2 separate regions of the Homo sapiens genome follow, and region 1 is linked to region 2. Evidence: promoter capture Hi-C in 16 types of primary human blood cells and fetal thymus (Javierre and others, 2016). All regions are on one chromosome and are shown on one strand. The core of a region is centred on a gene start or on the middle of the fragment in contact, and the rest is flanking DNA. Distances in the headings are between cores, read along the strand shown.

Region 1 (5,467 bases), core at 2,223-4,722, 350 kb after region 2:
AGCGCATGCCTGTAGTCCCAGCTACTCGGGAGATGGAGGCAGGAGAATCATTTGAACCCGGGAGGTGGAGGTTGCAGTGAGCCGGGACTGTGCCACTGCACTCCAGCCTGGGCAACAAAGTGAGACTCTGTCTCAAAAAAAAAAGGTTAAAAAATATATCCACTATGATCCTAGGTCTGTCTAATATGTTAAGACGTCTGTGTGTGTATGTGGCATGACCATCTCTTGATGAGCATAGAAAACGGTAGAGGACTTCACTCTGAATGGTAGAAACCACAGATTTTTTTTCCCTTTCTATATTTTCCACAATGTACATTTATGCATCATTATTATAATAAGAAAAAAATTCCTTTAATATAAAGACTTTCTAAATCCTGCTTTACAGATGCAGAAACCAAAGCTCTAGGAACAAGATCAGGCTTTCTGACCTTCTGACTCCCCAACCCATATAATCCCGGTGGTTAAGACTGGAACGAAGAGTCACACATCTTCATCTGTTTTTCTACAAGCTCATCAGCTACTAAATGGTCTGCTTTCCACAGATAAATATGCTCAGATAAAATCCTGTTTTCTCAGTAAAATCTCTTCACCCCCTTGGTAAATAAGCCTGTTAAACATCTCTCTGCCAAATACAACAAATATCTAGTTTGCTGTATCAGTTCAAGGCACTTCTGGCCAAGATTAATCCACGTAAAACATTCCAATGGCTACTGGAACAAAGGCAACCAATGCAGGGTATGGATATTCAGGATTAAATCTGAAGCTGAGCAAGAAATGTACCTTCCAGAGCCACCACTCTGTATCTAATGGTCAGATTAGCATCTAGCTTGCTGGGATATTACAAAGATGACAAGGAAACTTTATGCAAACACTCTGCAAACTAGGAAGAGCTCTGTGAACTGCTACATGTGAGCTGCTACATGGGCCAAGATCTTCAGAAATACGGTTGCCCCAGAGACCACAAGGTCACTCTGAGAACAAGCCACGGCTTAAAAAGAAGGTGACCAACAGGGAAAAGGAGGCGAACACAAGAAGGGAGCAGGCTGAAGGGGAGGTCCACCCAGATTCAGGGAAAAGGGCACAGACTCACCTCTGCAAGGAAAGAGTGGCATAGAACTTGTGGCCATTTCTAATCTAGAAGCCTGGGGCTTACGGGTCACGGGGGCAAGCTGGTAAACACCCATCAGAGTCTATATGTGCTTTGACCAATGGAGTAAAATGGAAGTGTTGTTGGGCAAGTTCTGGGCCTTAAGAGATTGGGCAGCTTCCTTTCCTATTTCTTGAAATACCTAATCTTAAAATCCATCTATCGTGCTTTGAGGACACCTAAGCAGCCCATGGAGAGGTCTACATGAAGAGGAATCAAGGACACTGACCAACAGCCCCAGCTAAGCTCCCTGTCAACAGGCAGCATCAACTTGCCAGCCATGAATGAGCCAACTTAGAAGTGAATTCCCCAGCCCCAGGTGAGCCACTCTACCTAGTACCATGTGAAACAGAGATAAGGTTCCTTATCTCTGAATTCCTGGCCAAAAAATGTTGAGTAAAACAAGCTGGTTGAGTTAAACCACTGTTTTGGTGGTTTAAACACACCAACAGAAAGCCAGAGCACTAAATGTATGTAGAAGTCTGAATGCAGAGATCATACAGAAAATACCTAACAAAGTATAGGTCTCAGAATACTTTTAGTTCACATGTAGGCCACACCTCTAGAGAAGGAATGCTGTAGGGCAGGAACCAGAAGTTTGAGACCAGCCTGGCAGACAGAGTAAGACCCTATCTAAAAAAAATTTTTTGTAACTAATTTTTGTATTTTTTGTAGAGTTGGGGTTTCACCATGTTGCCCAGGCTGGTCTCAAACTCCTGGGCTCAAGCAATCTGCCTCCCTCAGCCTCCCAAAGTGCTAGGATTACAGGTGTAAGTCATCACGCCCAAACTAAAAAAAAATTTTTTTTTAATTAGCTGGGTGTTGCGAGGCTGAGGCAGACAGATCACCCGAGATAAGGAGTTTGAGACCAGCCTGGCCAACATGGTGAAACCCCGTCAGTACTAAAAATACAAAAATTAGCCGGGCATGGTGGTGCGCACCTGTAATCCCAGCTACTTGGGAGGCTGAGGCAGGAGAATCACTTGAATCTGGGAGATGGAGGTTGCAGTGAGCTGAGATTGTGTCATTGCATTCCAGCTTGGGTGACAGAGAGAGACTTCATCTCAAAATTAATTAATTAATTAAAATAAATTAAAATTTAAAAATTAGCTGGGCGTGGTGACGTGCGCCTGTAATCCTAGCTACTGAGGAGGCTGAGGCAGGAGAATCACTTGAACCCAGGAGGCGGAGGTTGCAGTGAGCCAAGATTGTGCCATTGCACTCCAGCCTGGGCGACAAGAGCGAAACTCTGTCTCAAAAATAAATAAATAAATAAATTAGCTGGGTGTGGTGGTGCACACCTGTAGTCCCAGCTACTTGGGAGGCTGAAGAGGGAAGAAGGCTTAAGCCTGGGAGGTTAAGGCTGCAGAGAGCCATGGCTGTACCACTGCACTCCAGCCTGAACAACAGAGCAAGACCCTGCCTCAAAAAAAAAAATTGTAAAAGAATATTTCTTTCTTGACATATGAAATTCAAAAATCTGTTTCAAGTCAGAATGGGACTATAAGTGTAAAAAATTAAAAAAGAAAAAGTATCCACCGTAAAGTTTTATTGCCCATTGATTTATATATTGTAAAGGCTACTTTAACACTACACAGGCAGAGTCGAGGAGTTCTGACAGAAACCATATGGCCTGCAAAGCCTAAAATATTTACTGCCTGGAGCTTGGTGCAGTGGTGCATGCCTGCAATCCCAGCACTTTGGGAGGCCAAGGCAGGAAGATGGCTTGAGCTCAGGAGTTCAAGACTAGCTTGAGCAACATGACAAAACCCTATCTCTACAAAAAGTACAAAAATTAGCCAGGTGTGCTGATATGTGCTTATAGTCCCAGCTACTTGGGAGGCTGAGGTGGGAGGATCACTTGAGCCTGGGAGGTCAAGGCTACAGTGAGACATGATCATGCCAGTGCACTCCAGCTTGGGTGAAGTGTGCTGACTTCTGCTCTAGAAGATGTTCATAACTTGAGGGGTACATCCCACCCACCTGTCCATGAAACAAACTCATTTAAGATCTAGGGGAAATTCCATGGTTCCACAAACTCAGACAGAGAGATGGTGCTTCATCACACAAAAGCTTCCTATTTCACCTGATTTCTATCCTGGGTCAACCAAGACACTCTTCTCTACACGGGCCTCAGATTCCATTGTTCTCTGGATGGCTTCTCCAAAGGATATGGGGCAAGGCTGAAGTTTGGGTACTAATTTTGGTTCTTAAGTGATCAATTACATTAGCCAACATACATCAGCAAATCAGAGCAGAACTCCTATATTTATTTATATCTTATTTTAAAAAGTAAGTTCAAAGCATAAAAGTCCTATTTTTTGGGGTTTAACTCTGTGTTTTATTAAAGGTAACCTTTCCCTATACACGTGACAGACCTTTCCAACAAATCCCTAAATCAGTGTTCAGTAGAACTTCCAGAGTAAAGGCTATTACATGGTGATGCCCTCAGAATAGGAACAAGAATACAGTTTAGGATGCTATTCTGAGTATATAGGGATTCTCTTATGAACATCAGTGGCTGTCCCTCTTCTAAGGGGGTACTGGAAGAACTGAGCTCAGAATTGGTGAAGCTTAGACTTGAAAAGGAAAAGCCACCAAAACTAAAATGGAAAATGAGAACTCTTCCTCATTTATGCTTTATATCCAGTCTCACCTTGATGATATCTCCACTGGAGGCAATCAAATCTGTTGGAATGGTCACTCGAAATGAGCGCCCGACGACAGCCGTGCCATCAGGAATGCCAACCACTGTGGGAACAGCCTCGTGGAGGTCTGAGAGCACTGAGTGCATGGATGCCTCAAGCTGGTTTTCCCAGTCCCTGACAGCCTCTGAGGGTTCACTGGGCCAGTGGGACTGAGCCATAACCACAGAGAGCAGGAGGAGAAAGGTCCTCCCCGAGAGGGGCAGCAGCAGCGAGAGGCCCACAGACATCCTCATCCCAGGTCCAAGTTTGCTCAAGTCGATAGTCTTGCTAAGTAAGGAAGCAAGTGACTTGGTCCCAGAGCTGGGTTCTCACCCTCTGCACACCTGCTCCATCCCGGAGCACACAGAGCCTGAAAAAAAAAGAAAAGCAGGTTTAGACTTGAGCAATTCCAGTGGTTCAGTCACATACTATCCTCCAGGAGTTACTGTCAAAAACATCTACCCCGAGTTGGATCAAGCCTCTTACCCCCATGGTCTCTTATACAGAAACCAACAGTTTCGTGCAACTCCTTAGCACTGGAAATGTAGCTGATCCATTAAATATAAAATATACACTGGATTTTGAAAACTTCATAAAAAATGAATGTAAAATGCCTCATTAATACTTTTAAAATATTGATTGCAAACTGAAATGATATGTATTAGTAATATTTTGAATACAGTCAGATACATTCAATAAAATATATTAAGTAAACAATAAGTATTAACAAAGAATAAATAATAAAGAAATGTATTAAACAAGACGGGCACCGTGGCTCACGCCTATGATCCTGGCATCTTGGGAGACTAGGGTGGGTGGATGACTTGAGGTAAGGAGTTTGAAACCAGCCTGGCCAACATGGTAAAATCCCATCTCTACTAAAAATATGAAAATTAGCCGGGCATGGTGGTGGGTGCCTGTAATCCCAGCTACTGAGGAAGCTGAGGCAAGAGAATCACTTGAACCCGGGAGGTGGAGGTTGCAGTGAGCCGAGATTGCACCACTGCACTCCAGCCTGGGTGACAGAGTGAGACTCGACCTCAAAAAAAAACAATAAAATATTAAGTAAAATATATGATTGAAATTAATTTAATCTGCTTTTCTTCATGTGGCTACCAGGAAAATTTAAGTGACATATGTGGCTCATGTTATATTTCTGTTGGGTGGCACTGCTTTAGACCTAACTTCCAATTTACAGGAAATATGGGAGCTATGCAAAGAAAATCACACAAATCTAGAATGTGGGATCTTCTGCCAAACAACTGGCCTGGTCTCTCCAAATGCTGACATCCCTAAACATAAGATGACTGTTCTCGATTTAGAGACAGCAACCAGACTTGATGTGTGTATCTTTCTAGGGGTAGGGGAGTGGGGACAGAGAAGGTTCTTGCTCTGTGGCCCAGGATAGAGTACAGTGTCATGTTCATAGCTCAATGTAACCTTGAACTCCTGGGCTCAAGTAAATAGCTGGGACTTCAGGTGCACACCACTCCACTCAGCTAGTTTTTAAAAATCTTTTGTACAGACAGTGTCCCACTATGCTGCCCAGGCTGGCCTCAAACTCTTGGCCTCAAGTGATCCTCTCACCTCAGTCTCCCAGGATTAGAAAGGTAAGCAATCTTGCCCAGACAAT
Region 2 (5,044 bases), core at 1,024-3,523:
TGTGTGGGCTGCTCTAGGAGCAGATACAGGCTGGTATAGAGGATGCAGAAAGGTAGGGCAGTATGTTTAAGTCCAGACTTGGCACATGGCTAGGGATACTGCTCACTAGCTGTGGAGGTCCTCAGGAGTGGAGAGAATGAGTAGGAGGGCAGAAGCTTCCATTTTTGTCCTTCCTAAGACCCTGTTATTTGTGTTATTTCCTGCCTTTCCGAGTCCTGCAGTGGGCTGCCCTGTACCCTGAACCTCATGAGCCTCTAAGGGAAAGGAGGAACAATTAGGACGTGGCAATGAGACCTGGCAGGGCAGAGTACAAGCCCAGCACCCAGTGTCCCAGCCTTACTGGGTCCTTACCCTGGGCCAAACAGGGAGGGCTGATACCTCCTTGCTCTTCCTAGATGCCCACCTCCTACAATCTCAGCCCACAAGTCCTCTCCACCCTAGGGGGCTTGCTGCATGGCAATAACTCATAATCTGATTTGGAGGTTTGCCCTTTACAGGGGCAGATTTTCTGCTCAGTTCAACAATGAAATGAAGAGGAACTCCCTCTTTCTACAGCTCACTTCTATCAGAGGCCCAGGTGCCTCAGAGCCACATTGAGTTGCTTTTTCTGGGATGAGGAAGTAGGGTTAAACTCCCCAGTTTCCTGAGGGAGGCTCCTGACAGGTGCCCTTTGTCAGACCCTACCACAGCCTGGATAGGCAGCCACATTGGTCCTCGCCCTTGCTCGGCACTCCGTGGTGGTCCTGCCCTTCTCCCTGCATGCCTGTGGGTCTGCTCTGGTGTGTGAAGGTCGGTGGGTTAACTGTGTGCCTACTGAACCTGGCAAATAAACATCACCCTGCAAAGCCTCTGGCCACCCTCTCGCCTTTGCTTCCTCTGTCCTACTGGGGAGGAGCCCCTGGAAGGCAGTGGGGAAGGGAGAGGCTGGGAGCAGGTTCACAAGTAGTGGCTGGGAGTAGTAGTGAACAGTGCCCTGTGGATTTCTTGGGCTGAGGGTGAAGATCATCCTCACCACAGTGTATTCCTCAATGGTGGTGGTGGTGGGGGTCCTCTGAACTCTAGAAATCCATGTGAGTAGTGGGTCTTGGGCTGCATTTGGACCAAGGAATACTCCCTGGGCTGAGAGCTCAAGTAAGGGCTGCTGTTTTTGACTCCTGTTGACCGAGGAGCCTTACTCTTGATTTAGGCATAGAGCTGGAATCTACCTGGGCCAGCCACCGCAAGGACAGACCCTGCTCATAGCCAAAGATAGCTTCCCTGAGCTAGGGAGAGGGTGTAGGGTGAGCAATGCACAAAGATTCTATGCTGCTCTGTGTTGATTCCTTCTTTCTGTGAACACCTGTGCTTTCCACCTATGCCCCAAATGAAATCTCACTCTGGGTCTATTTCAGCTGGAGCAGATCAGCTTTATATTATGGGACTATGCACAGGGTTTCTTCTGGGTAGAGGGAGTAACACTGCCACAGATACTAAGCCTAAAAACCCAAAAGTTGACTTACTCCAGCCCAGGTGGGCCTGGGTGAACTCACCAGGGATGCTGCTCTCTGGGAGGACCTCAAAGATAACCTCCTCAAAGATAACTTCTCTGATGTGGGAATAATAAAAAGGATTTGTTAGTCTCTAGTCTTTGAAGCATCTGGGCCTCCAAAATTCCAACCCTACTACAGTCTCAAGCATAACTGATCCTCCTGAGAGCTAAGAGCTAAAGTCAGGGTACTGGCCCTAGTGTCTCCAAACTCAAGGATAGTCATATCTTACTTGGATGAAGCCAAGGTTGGCCTGGGGTGACCTGAGGGACTGGGGCCTATGTGTCCATCTTTCTAGAATCGCCCGGAACTGAGGACTGAGAGGGTAGGGTATTGTGGTCTATGGGAACTACAGACCATAGCGCATGGTCCATCACTGTCCAGAGCCCAAGGGACCCATCGGGACCATTGTTCTATTCCCTTGCGGCTGCGGTTTTCTCTGCCTTGGCCCAGCCTGCCTCGCGCCAGCTCTGGCATGGGACCACAATGCGCTGCCTTGCCCTGGAAAAGGGTCCAGCTGGCAGCCTCGCTGCTCCCCGCCTTGATATAATGCTGCGCTCTCAAGTGGCAGGTCGAGTCTCCCCAGAGGACGCCTGAGAGCGACCGCGCTCCGCCCAGGATTCTCTACGGCCTCGGGGCCGCTAAGCCCCGCCCATAGTTCCGCCCATCCGAGAATTTGTCCAATCCAGGCGAAGTATTCACGCTCCGCCCAAAGTTTTGTGTTGTCACTTCCGGCCCGCTCCAGGAAGTCGTGCTGCGGAGCCAAATTTGAAGCAAGCGGAGGCGCGGGGGCGCGTCTACGAAGCCGGACCTGTAGCAGTTTCTTTGGCTGCCTGGGCCCCTTGAGTCCAGCCATCATGCCTATCCGTGCTCTGTGCACTATCTGCTCCGACTTCTTCGATCACTCCCGCGACGTGGCCGCCATCCACTGCGGCCACACCTTCCACTTGCAGTGGTGAGTGACTGCAGTGTTGGGGCCCGGTGTTTGCCCGGGTACCGCTTCAGGGCCTTGAGGTGTTGGGCCTCCAGGCGGTCCAACCCCGGAATCCAGACAAGTGATGAGAACCTTCCTCCTAGACGAGGCCCCACGGGAGCTTCCCAACCTGGGCAGAAGTGGGTCAGGACAGGCTTTCTGGTAGAGGTGATAGCTGAGCTAAGCCTGAGGGGGACTAAGATGGCTCAGTGAAGATAGATGCTTCCTTGATCACCTATACAAACAGATGTGATTTCAAAACCGTTAGCCTGGGCAAGGGTGAGCTTTCACCACATCAACAAGTCCTTTTATTTCTTCCAGATAGAAACCTGCTAGGCTTCTGGCTACCCAAGAGAGTTTGCTGTGCCTTACTTGATGGTTTGGAATTATTCTACCCAGAGTCATCTCACTGTCCAGACACCCCAATGTATTCGCCATGTCAGCAAACCCGTTTAACATGGGGAAGGCAAGGAGATGCTCCCCTATCCAGGGGTCCTGCTGACCGTGTAGGGCCATTCTGTTGAGTGTACAGCTAGTGGGGAAAGATTCCCCTAGCAGATGTGGACAGGCCGGTTTGGACCTCCTAGCAAAAGAGATAAGGCAGCGTTACCCCTGGGAATGGTGGGTGATAATAATCACAGGGTCTTGTGGGGCTAAAGGCCCTAGGAAGCAGAAAGGCAGGCATGACACTGATGGCTGCTGGCTTACTTGCAAAGCTTTGTTTAGGCCTGTGTTGCTGACAGCCTGAGCCCCATGCTGAGGGAGCCACTGCTGTTTGGTTAGACTAGAAATTAAGCTCGCCTCTAAGCGTACTCTATTTTCTGTTTGCCTACTCTATTTTCTTCTATCCTTTTACTTTATTTATTTATTTTTATTTTATTTTATTTTTGAGATGGAGTCTCGCTCCTGTCGTGTAGGCTGGAGTGCAGTGGCGTGATCTCGGCTCACTGCAACCTCCACCTCCTGAGTTCAAGTGATTCTCCTTCCTCAGCCTCCCAAGTAGCTGACATTACAGGCGTGCGCCACCACGCCCAGCTAATTTTTGTGTTTTTCATAGACAGGGTTTCTCCATGTTGGCCAGGCTGGTCTCGAACTCCTGACTTCAGGTGATCCACCCACCTTGGCCTCTCAAAGTGCTAGGGCCTATCCTTTTACTTTAAACTTTTCTGTGTCCTTGTGTTTTACATGTATCCCTTGAAACAGCATTTATTTCTTTTTTTGTATATTAAAAAGTACTTTAGCTTACTGCAAAGATCTTTATTTTATTTTATTTTGAGACAGGGTCTCACTCTGTTACACAGGCTGCAGTGCAGTGGTGCCATCTCGGCTCACTGCAGCCTCTACCTCCTGGGCTAAGGTGATTCTCCCATCTTAGCCTCCCAAGTAGCTGGGACTACAGGCGCCTGCCACCATGCTTGACTATTTTTTTTTTTTTGTATTTTTAGTAGAGATGGGGTCTTGCTATGTTGCCCAGGCTGGTCTTGAACCCCTGGACTCAAGTAATCCACCCACCTCTGCCTCCCAAAGTGCTAGGATTACAGGTGTGAACCACCGCACCCAGCCTTGGAAAACAACATTTAGTTGGACTTTTAAAAATCCAGTCTGATAATCTTTGTATTTAACTGGACCATTTAGTCTACTTAAAATTGTTGCAATTACTGATTAAATAAAGAGTAAACATATTGTCTTTAGTCGATTCTGTTTTGCCTTGCCTATTATATCTTATTGTCTCCTTTCTTGCCTTGGTAGGAATTGGTTAAATATTCTGTATTTCTCCATTTTTCCCTCAGTTAGTTGGGTCGTTATATACCCCATTTCCATTTATAAGTGGTTATCCTAGAAATTAAGGTATGTATCCTTAACTTACCAATTTCAAGGTTAATCAACACCTTTCTCATTTTCCCAGGCAACTCAAAGAGCTTAGAATACTAACATTCTTTTCCCACTTCTACGTTATTGTTGAATATTTTAATTGTGTGTATGTGTGGTATTTTTTTCGTTGGTGTTATTTTTGAGACAGAGTCCTGCTCTCTTGCCCAAGCTGGTCTGCAGTGGTACAATCTCTGCTCACTGCAGCCTTGACCTCCTGGACTCAAGCGATCCTCCTGCCTCAGCCTCACAACTAGCTGGGACTACAGGTGCATGTCACCATGCCCAGCTAATTTTTGTTTTTTGTAGAGACAGGATTTCGCCATGCTGCCCAGGCTGGTTTGAAACTCCTGTACTCAAGTGATCCACCCTCCTTGGCCTGCCAAAGTGCTGGGGTTTACAGGCATGAGCCACCACGACCGGCCAATTGTATGTTTTTAAGTAAAGTTTTTGTTTGGAATAATTTTTTTTTTTTTTTGAAACAGGATCGTGCTGTGTCGCCCAGGCTGGAGTTTATAATTGTTTCTTCTTGCAGGATTGAACTTTTTTTAAATGTTCTTCTTTGTCCTTCTTTGTCTCTTGTAACTTTAATTCAAAGTCTGTCTTGCCTAATTTTTTTTTTGAGATGGAGTCTCGTTCTGTGGCCCAGACTGGAGTGCAGTGGCGCAATCTTGGC

What was found. Contacts are between HindIII fragments. The CHiCAGO score rates a contact against its expected background, and 5 or more counts as called.
Region 1: a contact is called between a fragment that was not itself captured here and the fragment with the promoter of TRAIP in region 2, in 1 of 17 cell types (erythroblasts). The highest score is 5.4, in erythroblasts.

The regions. Positions count from the first base shown.
Region 1 is chr3:49,509,156-49,514,622 of GRCh38, reverse strand. It overlaps DAG1 (dystroglycan 1), which reads right to left. Exons shown (of 3, transcript NM_004393.6): 2 at 3,804-4,204. The coding sequence starts at 4,088. Among named protein-coding and RNA genes, the nearest start is that of DAG1, 42 kb to the right of the region's middle. The HindIII fragment of the contact is 500 bases long and covers 3,223-3,722 here.
Region 2 is chr3:49,853,793-49,858,836 of GRCh38, reverse strand. TRAIP (TRAF interacting protein) reads left to right here and starts at 2,273. Exons shown (of 15, transcript NM_005879.3): 1 at 2,273-2,481. The coding sequence starts at 2,384. CAMKV (CaM kinase like vesicle associated) reads left to right here. Exons shown (of 11, transcript NM_024046.5): 11 at 1-848. The HindIII fragment of the contact is 3,060 bases long and covers 158-3,217 here.